2 separate regions of the Homo sapiens genome follow, and region 2 is linked to region 1. The links are contacts of gene promoters, found by promoter capture Hi-C in blood cells and fetal thymus (Javierre and others, 2016). All regions are on one chromosome and are shown on one strand. The core of a region is centred on a gene start or on the middle of the fragment in contact, and the rest is flanking DNA. Distances in the headings are between cores, read along the strand shown.

Region 1 (3,812 bases), core at 276-2,775:
AGGAGAGATGACGCTAAGGGACTGGGGGAAACGAGGAAGAAGAGTCCTCTGAATTGTTACCATTTCCAGAGGCTTGGTCAGGCCCTGCTCCGGCTCCATCCCCCGGCCCTAGAATTGCTCTTCTGCAGATTATTTCTGTGCTGGGAATTCCCTTAGCTCCAGCCTCCACTGGGCAGTTTATTATCTTAATTCCGCATGAAGAGTGTCCTCCCTCACCCTCCACCCTGCCCTGGACCAGACCTCCAGCCGCGACAATTCTAGGGCCTGGGTGAGGGTCTTACCGTTGTTGGGGGTATGCAAAGCCCCATGGGGGGGTGACCCAGGGCAAAAGGCCAGGCCCCAGAGGGGAAGGAAGTCTTGGGTAGAGCTCCCTGCCTCCCAGGCTGGGCTAAGAAGGGCGATAAGAGGAGCAGATTAGGCAAGAGGAAGTGGGCTGGGCTGAGCTGGACTGGTGCTGAACTCCCTGGGCCTGGGGCAGAGTGTGGGTCAGGCACCTGAGCAGCTGGGGCTGAGCCTGGCCAACCAGAGCAGCCATCCCTCCGCCCCAGCCCCGCTGCAGGCTGGGGTACACAGCAGAGGCGGGCACACGGAGGAGAGAGGAGAGCGCAGTGGAGGCAGGGGCTAGGGCTGCTCAGTGGGGGTCCAGGCCTCAGGCAGTCCCAGAGGCCCAGAGGTGGGAGTCTGGTGAGGTGGGTGAGGGGAGTGATTGCCTTGCCTCATGTGCCCCTCATTTTCTTTCTTTTTTTATTTTTTTCGAGATGGAGTCTTGCTCTGTCGCCCAGGCTGGAGTGCAGTGGCGCCATCTCGGCTCATTGCAAGCTCCGCCTCCTGGGTTCATGCCATTCTCCTGCCTCAGCCTCCCGAGTAGCTGGGACTACAGGCGCCGCTGCCACGCCCAGCTAATTTTTTGCATTTTTAGTAGAGACAGGGTTTCACCGTGTTAGCCAGGATGGTCTCGATCTCCTGACCTCGTGATCCGCCCGCCTCGGCCTCCCAAAGTGCTAGGATTACAGGCGTGAGCCACCGCACCCGCCCGCCCGGCAGGTGCACCTCATTTTCATGGGGGAGGAAGCATTGAGAAAGAGGAGCCGTGTGTTCAGCAAACTTTGCTTATTCAAAACACTCCATTCCAGCTGGGCCCTGTCCCCACCCCACCCCTGCCTCTACGGTGCTCCCAACCTTTGGGGTCAGATGCCCATGCTCTGGACCCTTCCCCTGAGGAGGTCCTTTCTCCTAGTGAGCTCCCTGTGCCTTCCCTCAGTCCAGGCCTGGGCAGCAGTCTCCCCAGCTGGTCTCCATGTCGTCCTTCTCCAGCCCTCCTGGGCCAAATCTGACCAGAGACCACCACAGGGACTGAGAGGCCCTGGCTCCAAGGCGACCCGGCCTCATGACCACGTCTCCGCTGTGAGCAGCGCAGAGAAGGAAGCCCAGAGCAGGAAGTGCTGAGAGGCACAGGGTGGGGCTGGGGGTGGGGGCGGGGGCCTCCAGAAGAGGCGGGGGCTTCCTGCTTCAGCCTCCTTGGGCAGAAGCAGTGACCACAGGCCCCCATGGCAGGCAGGGCGGGTGGGAGGAGGGTGATTTACAAGGCAGATGGGCCTCTGGCTACAGCTCAGTCCTGCACTCAGCCAGGGCCACCCCAGGGGCTATAAGAGCAACTAGATTTCTGGAGCAGCTCGGGGATGGGTGCCATTTGAGCCCAGCTTGGCTCCCCCTCCTGGCTGGCCTCCTTCCTGCCCTTCTGCCTGCCTGTGTCTGCTGAGATTCTGCAAAGAGGAACGCTTGGCACCATGTCTCTGCTCAACCCTGTCCTGCTGCCCCCCAAGGTGAAGGCCTATCTGAGCCAAGGGGAGCGCTTCATCAAATGGGATGATGTAAGTGGGGCAGGGGCCTCAGCTGCTGGAGCACCAGGTGGTGGGGGCCGGGCTGCTACGGGGCTTTGCTTGGGTGGGAGGATTGGTTTATGTCTCCTAGGATCCAGGCGCCTGTGTGGTTTGGCCAGGCAGCTGACACCACTGCTTGGATAAACAAACCTGGGATTAAGGGTGTATGTCCCCAGCTAAAGGGCTAAGCCTTGGTTCTAGGTGTGAGAAGTGGGTGAGCTGCCTGGGTGGTCACTGGAGGTAGTTTATTTGGGTCTGCTTCTCTTCTCCTTCAAACCCCCAAGAGAAGAGGAGGAAAGTGCACCCCAGAGCTGAGGCAGGCTAGGAGGAGAGGTGAGCTCGTCCCCGCTCCCAGCACAGATGTCTTGCCCTTGCTCCGGCAGGGCGCTCAGACCCAGCTCCTTCACCCCCTCCACTGGGCATCATCCTGTCCAGGGAAGCCTTGCTCTCCCCTGCGCTGCTGTGGGGGCAGCCACAAAAGGCCCCTGGACCTAAGTGAGAACTAGAGGCTTCTGCTCCCAGGGAAGGAGCTGATTTGACTTCTGCTACCCCTTGCTGGGCTCAGCATTGCTCCCCGATGCAGGCCTGTCAGCAAGGGAAGGGGAAGACACTGCTGCACCCTGCAGCCCTCTCTCTGCTGTGTCTGTTCCTTCCTACACGGGGCTGCTCCCAGGCTCTGGTTCTCCTGGCCCCTGAAAATGTTACCTTAGGCCAGGGATTCTCTTAGGCTGGAGAGAACAATATGGAGATTCTCCTTCAGGGAGGGGAGGCTGCTGGGCTCGCCCAGTCTGAGAGTTAGAGTGCTGGGCTTGTCCCAGGAAGGGAAATGAAGGCTTGGTGGGGGAGGGAAGACAGCCCTTAGTGCTGACTTGTCCACCTGATGGGAGGTGGGATGAGGGGGTCTGGGTCTAGGCCCTTCGGGGCTGGGCTAGGCTAGGGGATCTCGCTGCCCATGACTATGGGTTGGGGCCCTGTGGTGAGATGCTTCCTGCTTCCCTAGGAGTGATGTGGGGTTGGTGTAGCATGGCAGTGGCATGGAGGTGACATGCCCCAGGAGCCTGTGGAATGAGGGAAGTGGCTCAGAATGAAAAGCGAAGTGGCCTCTCTCAGTTCCTCTGGGCAGTGTGTGTAACCTGACTGGGCAGAGGGTCACAGGGTGGCAGTGGAGGTCGGGGGTTGGTGGCCAGCGGAGACTGTCCTTCTTCCTAAGCTGGCACCTGTGTACCTGGCTGTTCCCTTCCCCTCTCCAAGGTAGGGCATTGGATGTTCTCTGGATCCTGACCTGCACAAGCAAGAATGTCCCAAGCCTATCCACAGGTCCATGCTGCTGTGAGACAGGGCTCTGCTTTCAGGCTGCTTTTGGCACAGTTAGTGGATGGCATGGGTGTGCTGTGCCATGTTGAATAAGCAGAATACATAGGATGTAAGCAAATCCCAACTTTATTTCATCTCCCATGGCCTCTTTACAATATATTTGGTAGGAGAAGCTCTCCCCCTGGCCATGGAAAGAAACTCTGCAAGGCCACAAGACATTATATTTACTCTCAGGTAACACAGTCCAGTGGTCACTTTTCATCACAAAATCCAGTCCGATGTCAGAAACTGGCTATAATCAAAACTCCAACCTTTATTTACACTGACATCTTCTACCCTTCTCCTTCTAGGAATGGTTTCAGGTAGGCTGCAGGCCCCCTGGAAAGGGCCTTGGTGGGATTCCCTGCTGGTCCTGCTCAAGGCCCCTCTAGGCATGAGCTATAGGGAGGGAGGTGGGAAAGGGGTAACCAAGTTCTATTTAAACAGGTGCTGTCATAAATTGGCTCATGCTTTCTGAGCCTGGCAGAAGCTTAAAGCTGATTCTTTCTCTGGAGGACATTTTTGAGGATTCTTGGGAGACCCACCCCTTCGAATGGGAACCTGTTGCTTGAAGTCCCC
Region 2 (4,039 bases), core at 963-3,462, 84 kb after region 1:
GAGCTCCTGTGTCAATGCTTTTGTGAGATAAATTCTTAGGAAAATTTCTCAGCTAAAGGGAATATTTAAGTGACTTTTGCCAAATCAACTTCTAATAATGTACCAATCTGCATCCCAATTAATAATATATGAATGCCTGTTTCTTATCATCCTTACAAATACAATTTTCAACCATTTAGAGTGTATGACAATTTCTCATTTATTTTGCATTTTATTTAATTAGGAATGAACATCTCATGTATATGAGCCATTAAAATGTTTTAGTGGATTGTTCATGTCCTTTGTTTCTTTTATCAATTTTTTATTTTTAAGAGTTTTTTGTACTTTAGGTAAAACAGTTTTATTCATTCAGGCACTGTTCTAGACAGTGCAGTCAAACAGGAAACAAAGAAAATCCCCACCCTTAAGGAGTTTAAATTCTAGTAGAGAGATAAAGAAAAAAAAGTGTATGTATACACGCACACACACAACACAGACACACGCACGAGGCGGTGACAGGTGCAATAGAAAAATAAAGGAGGGTAAAAAGGGATAGAAAGTGATAGCAGTGTGTGTGGGATGGGATGCTATTCTGTGCAGTGTACAGAATGGTCAGGGACAGCCTCTCTGATAGAGTGGAGATTGGAGAAGACACCTACCTGAAAGGAAGAAAGGGAGTAATTTACATGAAGATCAAGGAAAACAAGGCCAAAAAACAACTGGCCTTAAAAGCCAAAAGGCTTTAAAGAGAGGGAGAGGGAAATTAGTTGGCACATTTGAGAAGCAACAAGGAGGCCGCCTACAGCAGTGTGGGTGAGGAAGAGGGGAGTCCGGGAGGAGGTCAGAGAGAGTGGGGTCAGATAGGGTGGGGTCTTATAGGCCATGGTAAAGTCTTTGGAGGGTTCTGATTTGGCTGGAGGTGGGTAGGAACAACAGAGTCATGAGACCAGATGAAAGTGGATGCAAGCCTGGACAACACAGCAAGACTTTGTCTCTACTAAAGATTAAAAAAATTAGCCAGGTGTGGTGGCGTGCACCGAGACTCCCAGCTACTTGGGAGGCCTGAAACCAGGAGTTGATCTTCTTACCACTGCATTGCAGCCTGGGCGACAAAGCAAGATCCCTGAGTCGAGGCAAAAAAAGATGTAAATATTTGTTGCCAGTAAATGTTCCTAGTTTGAATTTATGGTTTTAATTTTTTTGGAGGGGAGGATAGGTATCCATCCTATATTTAATTTTTTATCTACTATAGTAATAGCAATCTTCTGGTTTATATCTTGCTTTTATGTCACACAGGCAAAAGATTGCAAAACCATCTATTACATTGTATTTTGATTAAAATTTCTGATTTCTCCAAAATTATTTTGGGGATAAGCAGTGAAACAGGCAAGATCAATGCATAAGACTGCACAATGTATTTGCTGCACAAGGGTACCAGGCTGAGGGGGTAAGTGGGGACTGAAATTCAGTCAAGGTATGGTGCATTGGGAGGTACTGAATCCACTAAAGGAAGGGGCCTTTTCTAATTTGCACGAAGGTGCTATATGAACTAGTAGTGTCAATGGAGATAGAGTTCAAGCTTTAATCCATTGTGGGTTGTTTTTTCTTTTTTTTTTTTTTTTTGAGACAGAGTTTCACTCTTGTTGCCCAGGTTGGAGTACAATGGCATGATCTTGGCTAACTGCAACCTCCACCTCCTGGGTTCAAGCGATTCTCCTGCCTCAGCCTCCCAAGTAGCTGGGATTATAGGCATGCACCACCACGCATGGCTAATTTTGTATTTTTAGAAGAGACGGGGTTTCACTATGTTGGCCAGGCTGGTCACGAACTCCTGACTCAGGTAATCCACCCGCCTCAGCCTCCCAAAGTGTTGGGATTACAGGTGCGAGCCACCACACCCAGCCTAATCCATTGTTTTAACACCAGTTATTAAATAATCTTTTCACATACTGACTTAAAATGCCATCTTTGTCCTATTAAATATTCATAGCTTCTTATGTCTCTGGTAGAACCAAGGACCCCGTTAAGGTAGAAGTTTGCCATATTACAAAAAAAATTTTTTTAAATGCATTCTCCTCACTAGGGAAACCTTTATTTTAGGAGCCAAATTAGAAGCTAATTTTGGCACATTAGAAAGAACTGGTGCAGTTGGAAGAATTCCTCATTTTCAGATGCAATTTCTTTGCTGTCTTTGCTTAAAGGCTTCAGCTTAAAGACACCAATGAGTTATTTCAAAGAACCTTGTGCTCACCTTCTGAAAGGCTTTCTTATCTACCTTGAGATAATAGCTCAACCAACAGTCTGAAGTCTTACTGCTCCAGGAAAATCTTTATTTCCAGGTTTAGGTTTGGCATCAGTTAGAGCACTCTGACTTGGTGGAAGGTTTCTTATACTACTGCCATAGGAGGACGAAGGCTCTAACAGTGGAGTAGTATCGGTGGATGTACACTTTGTGAATGGTGAGATGCTATATGTGATGTGGTCTCTTTTCAAACAAAAGTAAAACTCCTGCCTTTTCAGCTGTCCCCCACTACCCAACCAGGTCCATCACTATGCTATTACTGCCTTAGTGAGACAAGAAATAAGAACCATTTGAAACTTCTGCCAAAAAGGAAAGGCTTCCTTCTCCCAAGACAAATAAGCATAAAATATAAGGGAAATGTAAAGGATCTCACTTTGTGGTTTTATGCTTAGGCAAACTGAAAACCTAAGACAATTGTAAGTCCTAAATGGTCAGGTAAACTTTTCTCCTCTCTACAAAGGGCTGGGGTTGGAAGAGATTGGAATGGAAGGGAGGGGTGGCAAAACAGATGCAAGTTCTCTAACAAAGTAGTTTCCTCAGATTCCCCTCCCTTTCCTCACAGCCTACTCCAGAAACAAAGCTTTACTTCACAGCAGCCTGCTGTCAAGGTTGCTATTCACTACATAGTAGCTAAGCCTATATTAAGAATAAATCTAAATTTTCTGTCCAGTCTCAGAGTAATAACTTCATGTGTCAACACAGTGAACTGAGAAATGAGGAGAGCAGAGAGGAGAGGGGCTTGATTATGTAAAAGATACAGATATATCATTTTACATCATCAGTATAAGAAGCAAATGTGAGAATGTTTGGAGAGCTGTATTTTGGTTAAGAGCAAATATTTCTAAGTTGATTATCTTTCAGATCCAAGTCATGTTGCAGTGCTTCAACTATATATGCTTAAATATTTTTAGTTGAGACATACGTAGGATTTTTTGCTTTCCAGCAATCTTAGAGCAGTAACAGTGACAACTAGAGTAAAAAAAAAATAAGGCACTAGCAAGGAGGAACATTAGATAATTTTGGTATTTAGATATGAAATAGATAATTAGATAATTTTCTTTCCTTTTTTTGTTAGAGGCAGAGTCTTGTTCTGTCGCCCGGAGCAAGAGTGCAATGGCGCAATCATGCTCACTAAACCTTGAACTCCCAGGCTCAAGCAATCCTTTCGCCTCAGCTTCCCAAGCAGCTAGGACTATAGGCAAGTGCCACTGCACCCAACTAATTTATGTTTATTTTTATTTTTTGTAGAGATGGGGCTCACTTTGTTGCCCGGGCAGCTCTCAAACTCCTGGTCTCACATGAATCTCCCTCCTTGGCCTCCCAAAGTGCTGGGATTACAGGCATGAGTCACGGTGCCCGGCTGATAGTTGGATAATTTTCATTGCCTTTTTCTACCAATTTTCTTCCCTATCCCTGAGGCCAGGTGTAATTCACGCTTCCCTTTGGGAGTCCAATACTTTATCTAGGCCTATTCTCTTCCAAACTATTTCATACTTCAAAGTTATCGTTTTATTCTGACCTCCTGCTTCCTCAAATCTTTCAAGCAAAATTTCCTTTTATTCCTTCACTGACCCTTGCCCCCTCCAAGTCATTCTGCATGTAATAGAATGGTGATTATTCCATTTCTGAAAGGTTGCTAAACCCTGTTTAACACATTTGCTTTTACTTTCTAACAGTCACATTCCTAATCAAAAGACCCCAGCAGCAGTGCCACTAGATTATATAAATAGACCAAGGAGCTTGGTGGATAAAAGTGAA

Evidence for each region. The method cuts DNA at HindIII sites, captures the fragments that hold promoters and counts their contacts. A CHiCAGO score of 5 or more calls a contact.
Region 2: a fragment that was not itself captured here is called in contact with the fragment with the promoter of PLCB2 in region 1 in 2 of 17 cell types (M1 macrophages and M2 macrophages); the score reaches 7.6 in M1 macrophages.

The regions. Positions count from the first base shown.
Region 1 is chr15:40,305,648-40,309,459 of GRCh38, reverse strand. It overlaps PLCB2 (phospholipase C beta 2), which reads left to right and starts at 1,525. Exons shown (of 32, transcript NM_004573.3): 1 at 1,525-1,871. The coding sequence starts at 1,788. The HindIII fragment of the contact is 15,701 bases long and covers 1-3,725 here.
Region 2 is chr15:40,221,675-40,225,713 of GRCh38, reverse strand. The region is part of intron 1 of BUB1B-PAK6 (BUB1B-PAK6 readthrough); the gene reads right to left. The region is part of intron 1 of LOC107984763 (a long non-coding RNA gene); the gene reads left to right. Among named protein-coding and RNA genes, the nearest start is that of BUB1B-PAK6, 6.3 kb to the right of the region's middle. The HindIII fragment of the contact is 1,303 bases long and covers 1,561-2,863 here.